2 separate regions of the Homo sapiens genome follow, and region 2 is linked to region 1. Evidence: promoter capture Hi-C in 16 types of primary human blood cells and fetal thymus (Javierre and others, 2016). All regions are on one chromosome and are shown on one strand. Each heading gives the region's core, a stretch centred on a gene start or on the middle of the fragment in contact. The rest is flanking DNA. Distances are from core to core; before and after follow the strand shown. Region 1 holds the start of DOCK7 (dedicator of cytokinesis 7). Region 2 overlaps DOCK7 (dedicator of cytokinesis 7).

Region 1 (4,544 bases), core at 1,429-3,928:
CATCCCACTTGCATCTCCCAATCTCAAACTCCTTTTTCCTCCTGTACTCCCTTACCCCAAAGACTGCCACCATCATCCACGTGGTTGCCCAACTTAGGATGTCATCCCAGACTCCTCAGTCCGCCTCACCTTGCATGTCCAATCACCAATCACTACCATATCCACCTCCTGTCTGTCCAATAAGTGCACATTTCTTCATTCACATTATCTTAATTTTATAACTTCTTAGAAAGCTGTTCTTATTTGCATTTTGTGTTGTTTTGCACAACTGATTCTCTTTTTCTCTTGTGGTTTGTCCTATCCCATCTGGTGGCGAACTCCACTAATAGACATACAATTTCATATCCAACTCTCTAAAGTGCACTTACTTTATCAGCATGATGTTTTCAGAGATAAACTTCTGGTTCTAATAAGAGAAATTAAAACTAGGAATACATGTCAAGTAATAACTTTTTTTTTTTTTTTTTTTTTTTTTTTTTTTTTTTGAGACGGAGTCTCGCTCTGTCGCCCAGGCCGGACTGCGGACTGCAGTGGCGCAATCTCGGCTCACTGCAAGCTCCGCTTCCCGGGTTCACGCCATTCTCCTGCCTCAGCCTCCCGAGTAGCTGGGACTACAGGCGCCCGCCACCGCGCCCGGCTAATTTTTTGTATTTTTTTTTTTTAGTAGAGACGGGGTTTCACCTTGTTAGCCAGGATGGTCTCGATCTCCTGACCTCATGATCCACCCGCCTCGGCCTCCCAAAGTGCTGGGATTACAGGCGTGAGCCACCGCGCCCGGCCAGTAATAACATTTTTTAATGACATCATCATCAGAAGTAAGACCTAATTATTTTACAAAAAAAAAAAATTTCCTGTCATCATAACTCCCTGGGAGAAACTAATTACTACAAGTGTTTGATGACAGGTAGTATAGGCCCTGTACTATCCTACGCACATTACACAAATTATGCCACTTAATGTTCACAACAACACTATGAGCTGGGTCCTATTATTATTCTCATTTGCCAGACGAGGAAACGGAAATTTGGCCCAACAACTTGGCCAAAGTCCCAAGCTAGAAAATACCAATCAGGATTTGAACCCATGTCGGGGTCTGAGAGTAGAGCCCATGCTCTTAAACACTTGCTATTTTGCCCCTTCAGGAAAAAAAAAGTGCTAGAACGCTGGAAAGAAAGAAAAAAAAAAGCCTCTGCCTCGAAAGCAGCTAGGACGACAGGTGCAACACCACACCTGGCTAATTTTTTTGCAGAGATGGGGTGGGGGGGACTCGCTATGTTGCCCAGGCTGGTCTTGAACTCCTGGCCTCAAGCGATCCTCCTGCCTCGGCCTCCCAAACTGCTGGGATTACAGGCCTGAGCCACTGCATCCGGCCCAAAATTTTTAAAGAAATGTCAGCAAACTAAAAAGACTCAGAGCCACAGAACTACAACTGCCCCAAAACAAAAAAAGGTAATTTAATATGAATGCTTCTTTTCTTGGGACATCATAATTCACACAAATATGATTTTATTAAAACAAAAATGTCTACTGTCTCATACATAAGTATACTCCACAAAGAAATTCTACAAATATTAGAGTCCTCTGTCATTTAATTTTTATTTGGCGGGTGGGAGAAAGGTGGCAACCAACCACCACAAGTAGGTGAAAGGCTTTGAAACCTCCACCTCAATCACTTGCTTTACTTCAAGACTGCAATCACTTGCTTTACTTCAAGACTGCTAACATATAAAAGGATGTCAGTGTATAAAGAACACTGCCTATCATCCATCTTCTCGGGTGCTCTGAGAAACACAGGCGCACAGTTAAATTCACAGGCGAACTCAGAACAAGCTTCAGCCTGCAATCCGTCAGGGATTCGGCAGCTGCACACCGAAGGTGCAGCCCGCAGCTCTCAACTTTTCATTCTGTCCACACGTTTTCAATCCTGGACGCACAAGTCCACTTTGAACCTGGCCCGAGGGTGCAAAGAGGGTTCCTGTCAGATTTCTCAGGAAGAGAGAGACGCGTGAAGGAGGGGCGGCCTCCCACCCGCCCCGAGCCGCCGCGCGTTTCTCCTTTTGTTGGGGTGGAGGAGGGCGGACCCCGCACCCTCTAGGGGCCAAGAGGGGTGGGCGGAGAGACGGGAGGGGGCGAAACGCCGCGGCGGCCCCCGACGAGCCCGGGGGTGGGAACACAAAGAATTTGGGAAGCGGCCGACCGCCCTTCCATAAACCTCCGCAGAAGTCCAGGCCCGGGCCGCCGAGGAGCAGGAGGAGGCGGGCGCGCTGGAGTCCGCGGCCCTCTCCGCTCCCTGCCGAGGCTCAGCGGCGGGCGCGGGCTGAAGGCCGGGGTTCGAGGGCGGCGCGAGGCCTCCGCTACCCCCTCAGCCACCCCGAACCCCTTCCGCCCCGCCGCGAGCCAGGCCGCGGGATCCCGGTGCCGGCCCCGCCACACCCACCCGCCTCCTAGGCCAGGCCTGGGAGGACTCCGCGGCTCTTTCTCGGGCGGCGGCGGCGGCGCGCCCCACGCCGGATATTTACCTGCTGATCTTCTGGGCGAAGGCGCGGCGCTCGGCCATGGCTGCTGCGGCGACGGCGACGGCGGCGGCGGCTGCGGCGGGCCGGGTGCGGACCGGCGGGCGCGTGCCTCCTCGCTCGTGCTCCCTCCCTCGCGGCCTCCGCCAGTCCGGGCTCCGGACCTGGGAGGCTGGGGCTGGCGGCCGGAGCCAGGAACGAGCCCTGCCGTAATGTTCCTTAGAGGCGCGCAACGAGAAACCGCTCCTCCCCCAGCGCGTCAATCCCGGCGGGAACCCCGGCTGCGGAAGGCGGCTGCGGCCGGCGGGAGCCGAGGGGAAGAATGGAGCGCTGAGGAAGCGAGGCGCCAGCCCCAGCCGCTTCGCTGCCGCGGAGCCTGCACGACCGAGAGGTCGCGGAGAGAAGCCAGAGACAGGCCAGCGACCTGGCGAGGCAAGAAAATAAGATAACCGAACGCGTAGGGGGAGCTTGGCTTTCCCGAAATGGAAGGGAAGGAAATGAAAGGTGGGCTTTGCCGAGGGGGCTGTGCTTTAACCAAAGCCCTGGATGACTGGGTTCATGTTTCTGCAGCACCGGTCTCCGAGCTTTTTAAAGCACTTGGGTTTCTGCTTCGGCCTCATGAATGCAGCCTAACTGGAGAAACAGTGGTTTTTCTTATAGAGAAAGAGCCAGAAAATACCTTGCTCCTGCAGCGATAACAATAGTAATAGTTGACTTCTGGTGCTTAGCCAGCCACTGGATTAAAGTTTTTCAAGCACGAGCGCTTTGAAGTAGATCGTTACTATCACTATTTTAGAGGGAAGGAAATTGGCTTGGAAAAGCTAAGTGACTGGCCCCAGGTCGCACAGATGGTAAACTCTTCCACTGAGACTCAAACCCAGAGCCGGTTCTTTTCTTTGAGGACAGTTGTTTCCGTATTATTAACCCCTTTTGGATCTCTCTCTGTCTCTCATACATACATATATATATATATATATATATATATATATATATATATATATATATATATAAAATCCAGGTGAGCTCTAACGTTCACCCCCATTTTGATGTTCTGTTAAATAAGCTCTGTGTTGACCACTGAAACTGACCTTGTCCATAATAGCCTATAAAACAGAGACTAGCAGAGATTTGTTTTCATCTGTTCTGTTGTAATCCCATAATGTCTAGAATATTTGGCTCCTAATGCATATCTGTTGATACTGAAATTATGGTGACACTAAGAAAAATATCTTGGTTTCTTGTAGTACCTTTCCTCTTAAGTATTGCAAGAACTTAAAATGTGTATTTATTTATTGTTATTATTATATTCTCAGTATGTCCTGGTGGAATATGTTGGATACCTGTTTTCCTCTCTTTTACCATTGGAAAATCTGTAGCTTGGAGCCATTAGGTCACTTGCCAGAGTCACACACTGAGTCAGAGGTGAAAGCCTCAATTAGTCAGATCCATAACTTCCTGTCTAGTGCTGTAACTTCTGTGGAAGACTGTGTATTTATATAACAATGCTCATTGCAGTAACACACTGCTTTTATTTATTGATTTATTTATTTTAGACAGAATCCCCCTGTGTTGCTCAAGCATGGAATGCATAGGGCACTGCAGCCTAAAACTCCTAGGCTCAAGCAATCCTCTTGCCTCAGCCTCTGGAGGAGTAGCTAGTACCACAGGCTCTTGCCAAGGCGCCCTCCAGTAACACACTGTTTTCAGATGCTTGTTTACTAAAGGAAAAGATAGTCTATTCAAAGAGGACAGATATTTGGCTTCTACCTAAGTATAGAGCCCACCTAGGTGTTCTAAAAAACACGAAGGTGAACTAGACACAGACCTGCTCTCAGAATGTTTGAGTCCATTGGGAAAGATGAACCAGGTACTCACAGACTGTAAGTCAAGGCTATCACTGTACCTGGCTTTTAAGACCCTCTGTGATAGGAACCCAGACTTATTTTGCCACTTTCTTACTCTGTAACCTTAGGCAAGCTACTTAACTTCATCTCTAAAAGGAGGAAAATAATTATATCTACTTGAAAGGGT
Region 2 (4,544 bases), core at 1,393-3,892, 150 kb before region 1:
CTATAGTGTCCTCAGTAGCTAATACACAGATGATAGCATATAGTGGGAATACAATAAATATGAGGACTATATTGTATTGTATTTGTACTGAATATTGTGCAGATTCTTTATTATAACACTGTGGTAATGGTAACAAAGAATTTTAAACTTTAAATTCAGGGAAATTGAAGCTAAAGTCCTAAACTTAATATAGAGCACAGCCAAGTTTTAAATTGCAGTCTTTTGACTATTTTGTATTTTAGAAACCTGAACATATATGTAAGACTACTAAAAAACGGTGAAAATTACAATTTTTACCTTACAGGAGCAGAGATGTACATGAATTACGAATTTAAGGTTTATTTTCTAGGAAAAAAATGAATTGTCACTTATATATAGTCCCTGATTTATTTTTTCTGTAGATTATTAAATCTCTAGAAGAAATGTTTTCTTACCCATAATATAGGTAACATTCAATGCTGAGGACCACCCTATGACATACTCTGGAAGATCCTTTTCTCTTTTTTGTTGTTTTGTTTTATATTTTTTTACATACTTCTTTTTTGGAAGAAAAAGTTTCAGTGATTTCAGCTTTATAGAGGCTGAAGACGAAGGTGAAGAAGACGGTCCCAAGTGCTGAAATGCCTGAGTTTTAATTACAGTCCTGCTACCTACAAGCTGTGCATTCTAAGACAAGTTACTTAACTTCTCTGTGCCTTAGTAATACCTAGGCCACAGGGCAGTACTGGCATATTGTGCCCACTTGATAAATGTTTGTAATGTTTGTTGCCTTTGTTTACATATGTGTGTGTTTACATATACAAGTTTATATGTACAGGTGACCCTTGAACAGCATGGGTTTGAACTGCATGAGTCCACTTATATGTAGGTTTTCTCCCACCTCTGCCACTCCTGAGACAGCAAAACCAACCCCTCCTCTTCAGCCTATTCAATGTGAAGACAATGAGGATGGAGACATTTATGATGATCCACTTCCAATTAATGAAGAGCAAATATATTTTAACTTCCTTATAATTTTCTTAATAACATTTTCTTTTCGCTAGCTTATTCTAAGAACACAGTATATAATATGAATAACATACAAAATATGATTATGTTACCAGTAAGGCATCTGGTCAGCAGTAGGCTATTAGTAGTTAAGTTTTAGGTGAGTCAGAAGTTATATGCAGATTTTGACTGTGTGGGGGAGTCGGTTCCCCTAAACCCCAAGTTGTTCAAGGGTCAACTGTTCATATATATGTATTTATTAATTGAAATATTAATTCACTCATTTTAAAAGTGTCACTTATTTGATTAAGCAAAAAGTACTTAAAAAATTTAAAGAGACAGGATCTTGCTCTGTTATCCATGCGGAGTGCAGTGGTGATCATAGCTGACTGCAGCCTTGAACTTCTGGGCTCAAGCAAGCCTCCCTCCTCAGCCTTCCAAGTAGATGGAACTACAGGTTTGTGCCACCAGGTTTAGCTAATTTAAAAAAAAATTTTTTTGGTAGATATGGGCTCTTGCTATGTTGCCCAGGCTGGTCTCAAACTCCTGATCTCAAGTGATCCTCCTGCCTCGGCCTTCTAAAGTGCTGAGATTACAGGTGTGAGCCACTGCACCCAGCCAGTACTGTTGTTTTTTTATTGATTGTAACTGGCATTTCCCTAAGGGTTTACTAGCCATAACAATAGCAGTGGGTATCTATAAAGCTCTTTCCATCTTTGGTATAAAATCTACAATACTGTCATTATACACTTCATGTATAATGACTAGCAAAGAATGTATCACAAGTTTCCTTTGAAAATATAGCTAGCTTATGCAACCATCCCTGAGAAAATAAGAGTTAAAATGAGCCTCACTCTTAATTCCACCTAAACTGTGTTGAGTGTCCACAGTGTTTATTTAGAGATGTAACACATGTAATTTTGTCTTAGAGGCACATGGAAAAGCGTTAAGATGTGCAACAGAAAAAGATTTCTAAGGTAACAAATGAGCTAGCATAAAATTGTTCACTAAGAGAAAAAATATTAAAGAACATGCTCAGTTTTTGCTCACCATTAATTCAAAAAAGAACCAGGCTTGTTGCAAAGCTGATTCCCGAACGCTGCCACTGCAAACAACCCACTGCAAAGCCAGCTCCTCGTGAAAAAGCTATCCAGAAGTAAATCCAAAGTTATTATCAAAGTCAAATCTGCTGATAACATAAACCAAATCATAATGCAAATACAAACGAAGATATAATGAGAATAAGCAAAATAAGGCACGTGAACCATTCAATGATGCACTGAAGACACCCATTAACGAAACGGCTATTTATGTATGTAAGACAGTGGTATGTGGAACAGCTGAAAAAATTACATGTTATCTTGCAGTAAAATGTAATTTTAAAAGGACAGGTAGAAGATAGCCTCCTAAATTGTACCTGCAAACAGAAACTAGACTAAAAACTTATAGTACAGTAATATTTTGTTTGTATCTTAAGTACATTTTTAAACATACGCAAATACATGCATGAACTTTGCTGGTACAATTTAGGAAATACATTTTAAAATTTAAACTTTGCTATGAGCCATTAATTTTCAAGTTTTCAGGTAAGGTCTTTTTAAAAAAAAATAGCAGAAGATTTCTGCCTTATAATGGATATGCATACAAAGCATTTGCAAAGTAGTGTATATTAATATGAAAAAGGACTAACAAAACTGTGCATAAGGGAAGCAAATCAACATATCTTACTAAGAGTGACAATTTTTCTAACTCATCTTCCTTTCCCTGGAGATTTAAAACACAAAACAGAAGCAGTTACAGAAACAGAATTAAGAGTTGATACATTTTTTTGGTACTAAAATTTGATGATCAAATTTGAATTCACTAAATCCTAAAAATAGTCAATCCCAAAGATATAAACATTATCATAATGTAAAAAAGTATACATTGACAAGATATGCCCCAAAAGGCATCAGACAAGCAATGCTTGTTCAGATATATTTTTAAGCACAATGCAATTACTGTAAGTATCTCATACTGGTTATGTAAAGAAATCTTACATCTATTTAATTGGTGAAATTATTTTCCCCCTCTATGAATTGTCTTCATATGAATCTACCTTTTTAGTTGGTAAGCGTCCCGTTAATGTTTGTAAGAAACTTGACGTCTCTGTGTGCGAAGACATACGATTACAACTTCGATCCATAGCCTATGGAGTGAAGATGAATGAATGACGAGATAACATTAACGTTTGCAGTGGATGACTTTGCAGCTGATGGATTATGTACAAGTTTAAAACAGAGTTTTATTATGGTTTCAAAAACCATCTATTTTATTGCTCATCTCATTTTCACCATGTTAAGCTGCTTTAATGACAATGCATAAGTAGTATCAAAATGGCTTCTATATATTTTTGGTCTTTAAAAAATGATGAGTATTTCAGTGATTATATAATATTCAGAGTGTTGCAAAGAATGAAACTTTTATCTGTGTGATCTATATACATGCACATATCTAGTAAAAATATATAAAAAGTAAAAACATACTTCTCAACTGGTCTCAGACCAAAAAAGAAATCAGTAACTTTATATTAAAGAAAAGAAAAAGTTTAGAATAATTTCTTTCACTTTTTCATTATTATCAAAAACTACTATTCAGGTTTGTCATATACTAAATCAAATATAAATCATTTACAATATTAGAAATGGAATTAAAAATTTTATTTAGGAACAGGATTTCCCTCCAAAGCCAACACAGATGAGAAGTATATTTTGAGATATCATGCAGTATTAGCTATCAAGCAACTAGTCTTAAGTAAGCAAAACCTAATTCAGCTAAGGTATAACAAATTTCATACTTTGCAACACAGTACAAATTAAAATGGATTTTTGCTTCTGGTATTGAGTCTTATAGCACGGGGATCATATACTGTTCACATTCAATTTCAACTTATTGCCAGTCTTTCTATTCGGTGATTAGGAAGAAAATAACAAGATAGTAAATGTTAAATGAAAATGATACAATAGTTACACTTTAAACCAAAAGCAAATAGAAAACTGTTGGGTTTTTTCCTCCACGTAAAAAATTTAAAAATTGCTATTAAAGACGTGCTACCCCTAAAGAAGAAACTGTTATAAAAGCCATCAATTGCATAAGCAGCAGGCACTGAAATATTGATAGGGTGTGTAAGGAAGAAAGAAGACAGAGATAGGAAATAGGAAAGAAGAACATTACTGGTGCAATTGGTGGTACTCATGCATAGTAGTTGGAAAATGTGCTAAGTAAACAAAAATACACACTTTTTAATGATTAAAAAAAGCAAGCCACTGAAATCATAGTATATACTAAAAAGTAATGTTCTAAAGGGAAACATCAGCAGCCAATAAAGAAACCTCTAATATAAACACCACCTGTGTTGATTCTGCACTTGGACTGGGGTTGGATCCCCATGGGGCAGCTTTTGGACCACCAGTGTTAACCCAGGAATTGGAGCGATCTAAACCCTAAGCATATAATAGAAAGCAGTTTGAAAGGAAAGAAATATTACATGTTGCATGCTATAAATTATTCTTAAAGAA

What was found. The method cuts DNA at HindIII sites, captures the fragments that hold promoters and counts their contacts. A CHiCAGO score of 5 or more calls a contact.
Region 2: a fragment that was not itself captured here is called in contact with the fragment with the promoter of DOCK7 in region 1 in 1 of 17 cell types (megakaryocytes); the score reaches 6.2 in megakaryocytes.

Annotation. Positions count from the first base shown.
Region 1 is chr1:62,685,708-62,690,251 of GRCh38, forward strand. It overlaps DOCK7 (dedicator of cytokinesis 7), which reads right to left and starts at 2,679. Exons shown (of 50, transcript NM_001367561.1): 1 at 2,520-2,679. The coding sequence starts at 2,557. It overlaps DOCK7-DT (DOCK7 divergent transcript), which reads left to right and starts at 2,775. Exons shown (of 2, transcript NR_185999.1): 1 at 2,775-2,945. RefSeq lists a silencer at 2,032-2,781 and an enhancer at 3,791-4,085. The HindIII fragment of the contact is 2,843 bases long and covers 1,829-4,544 here.
Region 2 is chr1:62,540,571-62,545,114 of GRCh38, forward strand. DOCK7 (dedicator of cytokinesis 7) reads right to left here. Exons shown (of 50, transcript NM_001367561.1): 23 at 4,377-4,469; 24 at 3,086-3,175; 25 at 2,038-2,133. Among named protein-coding and RNA genes, the nearest start is that of ANGPTL3, 55 kb to the right of the region's middle. The HindIII fragment of the contact is 5,345 bases long and covers 1-4,544 here.